Linked DNA regions of Homo sapiens: region 2 is linked to region 1. Evidence: promoter capture Hi-C in human tissues and cell types (Jung and others, 2019). All regions are on one chromosome and are shown on one strand. Each heading gives the region's core, a stretch centred on a gene start or on the middle of the fragment in contact. The rest is flanking DNA. Distances are from core to core; before and after follow the strand shown.

Region 1 (5,348 bases), core at 1,711-4,210:
GTAATTTCCTAAGTGATGATTCTAGTTATCTCCATAACTATATGTATTGATACTGAAAACAGTAAGTGAACACCAAGACTACATACACTAACAAAGCAGCAGCATCTGTGTCATTTGATTCATAGGACAATCATTTTGTCATCGACATCAGCAAAAATAGCTGATTTAAACTTTGATGTTCTTTAGCATATAAAGAGGAGAGATAAGCATCTGACTAACCATTGTTTCAAATATCCTTGACTGTTTCTCCTGAGCAAAGAAGACAATTTAAATTACTAATTTCTCTCTCATATTAGTAACATAACTAAGTTTAATTGATGCTAATGATCTCCATTGACTAAAGTGCTTAGGTCCTTTTCAGAATATTTAAAACCACGTTAAATTTAAAAATATTATCTTTATTAGGAAATGTAGCATTGCTACTGCAATACTGCTGGCATGTAAAAAATAATAATGTATGAGAAAAAAATTATTCAGTCACCTTGCAGGACATGTTTTTCAAGAACTGCCACAAAACTATATTCATAGGGCCCTCCAATCTTGTAACTTGTTGACAATGCAGAATTTCCAAGAAATTACTTGGAAAAGGTAAAATGTGTGTTCAAATAGTCTTGTCAGTGCAGAAAGATTCAAAAGTTAATGTTCTAGTACATGACTGACTATATTATTTTTCCAAGGAGCATATTTTCAGAATTGACTATTTTTAAACTGCATACTGAGTGCACACATAGATTACAAATGTGCTAGTGTTTCATTATGATTGCATATAACATCATGATTACACATTGAATAACGGAATTGATCGGACGTTACATTTTCCTGTAAAAGCACTGTGGGTAAACAATGTCTGGAATCAATCATCCACTATAAATTGGTCCACAATTTCCTGAACTGAGGGGGAAAACATCTGATTAAAAGCCACAACTAAAACAAGTTTCTGAAGTAGTACAGATAACGTCCTGCTTACATGAGGTAGATAATTCTTTCCTCCATTCCTGCACATCAGCTAAAGATATACTTTCAAGTCTGGCAAATCAAATGGCATGATCCGAATCAATGTGCTCTACACTTTGGAATCTATGAGATGTTTATGTACCTACCAAGTTTAGAGAGGAGAGTAAACTTTTTTAAAACTTTCAAACACATCAGAATGTAATACAAACTGAAGCAATGTGTTTTGTTTACATAACTGTATTTAAGTGGCAGAAATATTTTAAGACATCCATTTTAGTCGTTTGCTCCTTTCATCCTTTTTATTTTCTGAACTTTTAGCTTTTTCACCTAGACTCAAATTCTGCCCTACCCCATTCTGGACTCCTTTTAGAAATATCCTATTTTAACATGCTAGTTTAAAAATCGTTTTGCTTTCATCATTCCCAATTACTTTTGAGCATCAGTCTGACTTTTACTACAGAGCCACAGATTTCCAAAAAATATACCTCCTTATTTATTTCATTCTTTCAACCTCTGGGAAAAACCAAAACTGGAGTTTAACTTGAATCTGTCTTTCCATTTCTGGAGAAAATGTTTCCTTTGGCTGCTGAAATTAACGCAATCAGACATGTGTGGAAACAAGCAGCTATGAGCATCCCTGACTTTCGAAGCTACACCCCTTCTTTTGGCTACCCACCCATACGTCTTCATTTGATAACCGTTCAAAAAGTTTCTTCCTGCCAGGCGGGTTTGCAGCACTTTCTCGGAGCAGGCACAGCATGCCACCTGCACGGGTGCACGCTCGCAAGAAAGCAGCAAGGGCTAAGGGACAGGAGGGCTGGGGAGGGGAGGCACGGGGCAAATCAAAACTCAATCCCAACAGCGTTAACTGGCATTTTAGGCCGAAGCTCCGGATTCGGAGGCTGGGGAGGAAGTAGCTAGCGCTGGCCTCGGCTGCCTGGCACGACCCGCGCCCGTCCTACCTGCCTGGGGGAAACTCGGGCGGCGGAAAGTCTCCCCGCCCCCAGCCGTCCCAGGCGTGGGGCCAGACAGGCGAGGGGGGCGGAAGGGGGGCGGCGGCGGGGGTCCAAGATCCAGGGCCGCAGCGGGCTCCCGGTGGGCTGGCGAGAAGAGGAGGGCGTCGGGGCCCCCGGGCTCGCCCCCCACCTGCCCCCCTTACCTTGGGCAATGGCAATAGACTCGAAGCGGTGCAGCTCTTTGAGCAGGCAGCTCCTCTCCGTGGAGTGCAGGCTGTAGATGAAGTCGCGCGCGCCCTGCGCCGTGTTCAGCGCCTCCATGGGCTCCTTCTTGGGGTGCGTGCCCAGCCGCCTGGGGCCGCCCGGCAAGCCGCCGGGGGGCGCGAGCGCCAGCAGCCCCCGCCCGCAGCAGCACCAGGACGGCGGGCGGGGCGCGGCGGCGGCGGCCGGGCCCGGCCTCAGGCTGCGCGCGGTCCGGCTCCTCAGCAGCGGCAGCAGCCGGGACATGGCGAGCTGAGGAGCTGGGACCCCCGCGGCCGTCCGGCAAGGCGGTTTCTGGCGCGGCTGAGGCGAGAAGGAGCTGGGCTCAGCTCGACCCCGCCCCGAGGTCCTCCTGCCAGGCAGCCGAGGCGCCGGGCACCATGCACTCCGCGGGCCCGCGCGGCTCTCGCCTCCTGTTCCGTCCCCACTTCCTTTCCAAAAGGCCCGCGGCGGCTCCCGCCCCTCCGATGGGAAAAACTTTCTCTGAGACGGCCGGGCCCGGACAGCGCCCGGAGAGGGCGGGCGGTCGGTGCGGGCGGGCGCCTCCCGGCTGAGGAGGAGCGGCGCGGGCGGGCGGGGCGGGCTAGTGTGTGTCTCTGTCAGTCTGATCTTCCAGAGGATGAGTCAGCCACGCACCGCCCTCCTCCAGCGCCGCCCTACTCTCCCGCCAGCTTTCTCACCCTCTAGCCTCCCCACGTCCCCACTCTGTAAGGTTCCCGAGCCCTCAAAGCAGCCGCGCTCCCGAGCCGCAGCCGCCGCCGCCGCCGCTACCCCTAGCGGCAGCAGAAGTGGGAACGGGGCGGGGCGAAAGGGGAAGGAGGTGCGGGGGGGCGGGGAGGTGTGTGAGCGAGGCTGCGCAGGCGCAGTCTGCAGGCTCTCGGGCCGCCCTCCCTCCTAGGGGAGGAGCGTGCACACGCGTCCCCTCCCGCGCTGGTGCGTGAAGGTGGAAGGAGGTAGGGTGCGCCACCCTGTGCTGGCGTTAAACCTACAGATCGGAATAGGGAAAACGAGCTCTGGACCCCTCGCCCGCCAGGGTAGTACAGCTGCCACCCGGCCCCCAACCTGGGGCCACATCTGGAGCTTGTTCTGAAAGGTGCCCCGGCGTGCGGCCCCGCTCTGGACAGGCGGAGAGCTGCGCTGCCACCCCAGCCCCGACGGGATCACGGCGCTCTGCTCCGGAACGAAGCGCCCCAGCTGCGCCCTTCGCCAAGTCAGCGCCCACCGCCGCTTCGGCCGAGCAGGCCGGCTCTAATGCAGTCGCTCTGGGCGCCCCAAAGAGAAAGCGAAGCCAGTTCCACCCCTGCCCAAGGAGGGTCTGAGACTGAGCCCTTGACACGAGAACAGTCCTCCCCGTTCAGATTCCAGCAGCTGGCATGCAAATTGTTAATGCTAGAGGCAGAGGCAAGAATGTCATAGACCTTTCCTAGTGGTTGCTTGTGATTTTTTTGTCTCTGTGCTAAAGCGGGAAGAATAATTTGATTGTCCACGATTTCCCCTGATCCAGGTCCTAGGCATCTTTCAAGGCCCAGGTGAAAGGTCTCCTACTTCATTAAGCTGTCCCTAATCTCTTCTAAGGGAGGAGATCTCTGCTTTATCTGAACCTGTCTAATGACGCTTAGGCACCCTTAGAGAATAAATCCACTTAATAAATCTGCTGGAGCGTAATCAAGATCTAAATCCCATCCTTATCATAAACAGTGCTGCACTCAGCCCGGAAACTTGTAGGTAGTAAATGTGCTACATGTAAGTAGAATATTAAACTGAATAATGGAGGATTGTTACCACTAAAGCCTCCTACTTCTCTAACTCTGGTTCTCAAAGTGTGTCCCAGAGCTTTTTAGACGTGAGAAATAGTGGACCCCACTTCACACCTCCTGAATCAGAACGTAGACATTGGACCCAGTCATGTGGGTTTTAACAAGCCCTCCAGTAATAACACACACGAAAGCTTGAGAAACACTGATGTCTCTTAAACATTGAAAGGAATCGCTTCTTTTTTAAATTCCAAGGTGATGCCTCTGTGATGTAATAACAACAATTAAGAATGCTCTCTGTGGAAATGAAAGCTTTTTGAGTGCATAAAGTATATCTTCCTTGTCTTTGAAACCCCCTTCATTCCCTAGTGTGCACTGGAATCCTCTGCAGAGCTATTTCAGTCTCAGGCTCATGGGAGTACCACCCCATCCCCCCCACAATTTCCTACCCCCAAGATATTCTGATTCACTGGGGTGGATCACAGGCCCCAGACCTGGGAAGTGAGGTTTGAAAAAAGTTCTTCAGTAAGAACCCATTCCCAACCACCTCCAGAATAGTAGTTTAGTGTGTAGCCTCCAGAGACAGACTGTGGAAAGTTCGATCCCTGGATCAACCGTCTCCTAACTATGTGTTAGTATTAGATTGTTATAGTAGTGATCCCCAATGAACTACACCTTCTATTATCCGCTCCGTTGTGTGGTCCACCTCTACATTGACTGTGGGCTTGGCTATTTGACTTGTTTTGGTCAATAAATAGGAGGACATCATAAACGTGATATGATACATGTTTGCTCATTGGGGTTTGCTGTAATGCTTTTGCTATATTACTATAGAATATTTAATTCTATTATAAAACAAGAGAAACTAAAATGTAGAAGCAAGTCACTTATGAGAAAGGTTACACATAGAATGAATGGATATGGGTTGAACATAGATAAAAAGGATGGAACAAATGAAAATGCTGCTTTAGATAGAGGCAGAAAGACAAAGTGGACTTTTAAGTATTAATAAGGTACAGATCATACTATCTTCAGATTTACAGCCATGTCATCCCTAAATTGCATACCTACTGGTAACACCCATTGTAACGCTATTATGGCCTCATGTAATCTCTTCCCAAGAAAAGCAGATAAACCCCCAGCTACAAAGCCAACTAATGCCAGCTACCATTATAACCAGACACACTTGCCCCTCAGCTCTGTAACAGAACAGACATATGTTGAGCCCAGGCCCCTTCAGTCTGTTGAGTCACCTTACTTACTCTCCAGTCTGGTCCTTGTAGCCACACTATGTGCTGAGAAGACTGGATGGTGGAGAGGGATAAGACATGAGAACATTGCATAAAACAGAATTTAGGTGCTATGGTCCTTCAGCCTATCCTAAGCTTATTAATCTACCCTATCTCTTTCCCCTTGCTTCTCA
Region 2 (5,348 bases), core at 1,482-3,981, 1.1 Mb before region 1:
TGATGGACTTAAGATGGATTTACTAACACATAATCCCATGGTAACCTAACCCCATAGTAAACTGAGAAACACATGGATTTATAATTTATGATTGTGACCAGGTGCAGTGGCTCATGCCTGTAATCCTGGCACTTTGGGAGGCTGAGGTGGGTGGATCACCTGAGGTCAGGAGTTTGAGACCAATCTGGCCAACATGGTGAAACCCCGTCTCTACTAAAAATATAAAAATTAGATGGGCATGGTGGCGGGCACCTGTAATCCCAGCTACTTGGGAGGCTGAGGCATGAGAATCGCTTGAACCAAGGAGGCAGAGGTTGCAGTGAACTAAGATGGTGCCACTGCACTCCAGCCTGGGCAACAGAGACTCTGTCTCAAAAAATAGTAATAGTTTATGATAGTTCAAGTTTATGGTGAGTTCATCAGGGTATTAAATGGATTTTCAACTTACAAAAATTTTAACTTACAATGGGTTTATCAGGACAAACCCCATTCTAAGTCAAGAAGCAACTGTATCTGATAAAGCTGTAACATCCAGAATATATAAAGAACTAAAACTCAGCAACAAAAAGGCAACCCAATTAAAAACTGGGCAAAGGATTGAACAAACTTTCAATATATTCAAAGGAAGATATACAAATAATTATGTGAAAAGATGTAGTTTTGATTTGCATTTTCCTAATGACATTATCACTCATCATTAGGGAAACACAAATCAAAACCACAATGAGACACCACTTCATACTTACTAGGATGGTTATAATTTTTATTATTTTATTTTTAGAGATGGGGTCTCACTATATTGCTCTCACTGGCCTCAAATACCTAGGCTCAAGTGATCCTCCCACCTCAGCCTCCCTGGTAGCTGGGACTACAGACACAGACCATCGCACTGGGCTTATAATCACTTTTTAAAACTGAAAATGAAAGGTGTTGGCAAAAATGTGGAGAAACTGGAATGCTTGTATATTGCTAGTGGAACGTAAAATGGTACAGATGCTTCAGAGAACATTTTAGCACTGTGGAAGAGTTTGGTGGTTCCTCAACAAATTAAACACAGAATACCACATGATTCAGGAATACTACTCCTTGATATACTCAAAAGAACTGAAAATGGGTACTCAGATCCTTGTATACCAATGTTCACCGCAGCATTATTCACAATTGCCAAAAGGCGGGAAAAAAACAAGTTTCCATCAACAGATACATGGATAAACAAAATGTGTGTGGGAGGAAGTGCACGTGTACAGACAAACACACACACACACACACAATAAAACATAAATCAGCCATGAAAAGAAACAAAGTCTTGATATACGCTAAAACATGGATGAACTTGAAAACATTATAAGTTAAAATAAGCCAGACACAAAAGGGCAAATATTTTAGGATTCTACTTCTTTGAAATATCAAGAATACACAAATTCATAGAGACAAAAAGTAGATTAGAGGTTACCAGGGGCTGGGAGGAATGGGGAGTTATTGCTTAATGGTTCCGAGTTTCTGTCTGGGGTGATGAAAAACTTTTGGAAAAGTGGTGAAGGTGGTGCAGCACTGTGAATATAATTAATGCCATTGAATTTACACTTAAAAACTGGTATAATGGCAAATAGTATGTGATATATATTTTACCACAATGTTTTAAAAATTGACTTTGTTAATAAAATGAAAAAAAAAAGGTCACTGTAAACTACTAATCACTACTTTTATTTTGTATTCAAGGTCACAATCAACCAGAAGAGGGTTCTTTTGCTCTGTCAAATAAATATATTTAAAAGCTAGCAAACGTCAGAGAAGAGTTTTATCAGGCCTATAAAAGAGATGAGGGAAATTAATAGTTATATACAGCTACACAGAGTTAACATATTGCAAGGGAAACAACTATATTCAAAGGCTTCATTTCTAATACTTGACATTTCAAATTTTGAGAACATTAAAATTATTGTCAAACAAAACTCAGACCACATTAGCAATGTTTATAAAAGGGAGCAATTTAATCATTATATTACAGAGTGCTTTAAGAAGTTTTTAAACGTGTAAAAGAAAAAAAAAAAGCTTAGTGCATTACGGTCTTTACATTGCTTCTTTTTTAAAAAAGTTAACAGTAGTATGAAAAAAGCCACCCACAAAGCCAGCTGTCTGAGTGAGGAAATCAGCTACATTGCAGCATTTTGGAATTACTAATAAAGCTATAGTTAAAAAATAAAAAGTTTATAAAAATGAAAGCAGCATGCATATTCAAGGCTTTTTCATAACATTTTCAATGGCTGAAAAACATTTAACCAAGAGCTTAATATTTATTATCCATTAAATTAGAGAAAATAAACTGGCTAAGCCTACATCTGGTCATTCAGAAAAACATGTTAAAATCCAAAGCTAATTAAACTGAACATTTCTTCTACGAAGAAAGCGCATTTTGAAAAATGGTCCTATGGTCACAAAAGAAAGGGTTCTTCCCAATATGAATGAACAGCACCAGTCTTTACAAAGTTTGTAAATTAGTATGAACTTTCAGTCTCCTGATACGGCAAGAGTTAACAGTTAACACTCCCATGATTCATAAGTGAAAAGCTAACTTTTAACTCATTATGATCAGTTCAGAATTTTTTCTCTATTCACTGAAACTGTTATAAAATTTCACTGAAAGATAACTCTTAAAAATTCTGATCTGACACCTGTATAAACATTTCTGATTTCCACGATTGTAAGAAAACACTAAGTATACATTTACTACGTGATTCTTTTTCACATTTTTGGTGCAGTATTTATTTCAAAGCTTCACCCTATCCAAATTACCATGTCAGTTTCTTTTCCTTCTTCAGAATTAATTTCCTGCAGTTTAATAAAAAGCAAATCAGCTTCTAATGGAACAAGTAACAGTAGAAACAGTGGTATTCATGGATGTGTTTAATGAAGGATCCAATTATTAAGGGCCAGTGAAACCATAAAATCTTATTGTTTCAACATATATAAATAGGCTGTTTTTACATTTGAAATTGTATAAGCCCATGCACAACTTTTAATCTTAGTGCAGGGTCTGATAAATAAGACATAGTAATAAATCAGGGTTTTTTTTTTTTTTTTTTTTTTACCCATTTCTAACAATTTTTACTGTAAAATTTTTGGTCAAAGTTCTAAGCTTAATCACATCTCAAAGAATAGAGGCAATATATAGCCCATCTTACTAGACATACAGTATTAAACTGGACTGAATATGAGGACAAGCTCTAGTGGTCATTAAACCCCCTCAGAAAGTCTAAGATTCAGAATGTCTCCATCATATTAGAAGAAAAATGTACTGTATTAAAATTTAAATTGCATTTTTACAAGTTGTTTTTTAATTAGTGTTCTATTTACATTGCAGAACTTCCACCAACTGCAGTAGTTTAACTTTGGCACAACATTAAGTTCCATTTCTTTTGGGTATTGGATCCTGCTTTTTGAGTGTGTATGCCCCAAAACGTTTTCAATGTCATCAAAGATTGGGCAAATTCACAGTAAATCAGACATCTTGAGTTGAAGAATTGATTCTCCTTCAACGTTTTAGGCAGCTAAAAAAGAAAAACATCATAAAAAACTGAAAATTTAAAGAAAACCATATTTTAATTTTTACTACTTTTAGAAATAAAAGTGAAAATACATCTTTTGTATTCTCTTGAGATTACCTGCCACATATGTCTTCCATAATACACTAGGCTTTGTGTGCAACTCATCTATGTATATGTTCTTCATATGCTAGATTTGCTTATAAACATTTATCATCTTTATGTAATAATTTATTTCAAACTGTATGAGCAGGGAGTATATATTTCATTGTCAGTATCTGTAATAAGCAGACTATGAAATCTAAAGACTTGTACTTTTTTCTATTTCTATACAAGGTGCAAAAGATATATATGTACCTCACTTCCTGTAATAACTATTTTGGGAAGGTTTTGGTAACTTTTTTGGTAAATTGAACAATATTTAAATGAAGAAATAACTATTTAGAGAAGGCTATGGTGAATCCTCTTATAAGTGAAAAATTATTTTACTCAGCCAAGGATAACTTGATGTTTCAGAAATTTAGACTTTTGTGTATTTAAAAAGGCATGCTTCTATGCTATCACAAAAGTATATAATATGGTTTGGCTCTGTGTCCCCATCCAAATCTTACCTTGAATTGTAATTATTAAGGGACAGTGATACCACAAAATCTTATTGTTTCAACATATGTAAATAGGCTGTTTTTACATTTGAAATTGTATAAGCCCATACATAACTTTTAATCAGGGAGTGTCGGGGGAGGGAGCCTGGTGGGAGGTGACTGAATCATGGGGGTGGACTTCCCCTCTGGCTGTTCTCATGATAGTGAGTGAGTTCTCAGGAGATCTGGTTGTTTGAAAGTTGTGTGGAACATCCCCTTTCGCTCTCTCTCCTGTTCGGTCATGGTGAGATGTGCTTGCTTCCCCTTCTTCCCCTTCGCCTTCTGCCATGACTGTAAGTTTCTTGGGGCCTCCCAGTCATGCTTCTTGTTAAGCCGGCAAAACTGTGAGTCAACTAAACCTCTTTTCTTCATAAATTACCCAGTCTCAGGTCGTTCTTTATAGCAGTGTGAAAATGGACTAATACAGTGCATGTATAGCATACATCATACAGTCTTTTGAAAACTGTAGTTTTAGGATGAATTTTCTGACCAGAATTAGTATCCATTACAGTGTTAATATATAACATAAGAATTATCTATACAAAATTAAAGGTCAAACTAAACTGTACAGAAAAATTCACATTATTTTTGGAAGACTGCAACTCCCCAAAAAAATCATTGCAGAGGTTACAACAACAACATTCACTGCAGCAACAAATTTGTTGATTTAATCTTGGCTGAGTGCACATTCTTGTGTTTAGCAATAAAAAAAATGCCTGTTAAAAATATTTTATGTATCTGGGTCAGAAGAAAGCCTGCTCTGAAGATTTCTGACATTAGGAAATGGAGGGCTGCACTTCAGGATAAAGCTGTATGAAACTGTTTAACTTCTTATAACCTAAAATGATTACATTATACCCTATAACCTGGAATGATATTTATACTGCTTATTAAAACAGGTACATTTTTAGTTTCATCTGTTATCCCTTAAAAAATATTAACAAGGAGAAAACCTGAAAAAGGATTGCCAAGCAGTAAGAATAGTGCCTGGTACATATTAAGCTCTCTATAAATAATTGTTAAAATAAATAAAACCAGAGAGAAGATGTAAGGGAATTAAGGAAAAACTGCACAGAATAACAGAGCATAAAAGTAGGGGATGGGATACTCATGCAAAAAGCCAAGGAAATAAGTAAGCATGCTCACGTATAAAATAATAATGAGG

The links. The method cuts DNA at HindIII sites, captures the fragments that hold promoters and counts their contacts. A contact is called where the count stands out against the background at its distance.
Region 2: a contact is called between a fragment that was not itself captured here and the fragment with the promoter of TMEM65 in region 1, in 1 of the 25 tissues and cell types used here (hippocampus).

What each region holds. Positions count from the first base shown.
Region 1 is chr8:124,369,741-124,375,088 of GRCh38, forward strand. It overlaps TMEM65 (transmembrane protein 65), which reads right to left and starts at 2,961. Exons shown (of 7, transcript NM_194291.3): 1 at 2,114-2,961. The coding sequence starts at 2,417. RefSeq lists silencers at 1,984-2,033, 2,044-2,173, 2,224-2,353, 2,484-2,753, 2,874-3,103 and enhancers at 2,828-3,122, 3,334-3,523. The HindIII fragment of the contact is 5,376 bases long and covers 1-4,773 here.
Region 2 is chr8:123,246,773-123,252,120 of GRCh38, forward strand. All of the region lies in intron 2 of ZHX1-C8orf76 (ZHX1-C8orf76 readthrough), which reads right to left. It overlaps ZHX1 (zinc fingers and homeoboxes 1), which reads right to left. Exons shown (of 4, transcript NM_007222.5): 4 at 1,684-3,548. Among named protein-coding and RNA genes, the nearest start is that of C8orf76, 8.1 kb to the left of the region's middle. RefSeq lists an enhancer at 4,273-4,482. The HindIII fragment of the contact is 3,854 bases long and covers 805-4,658 here.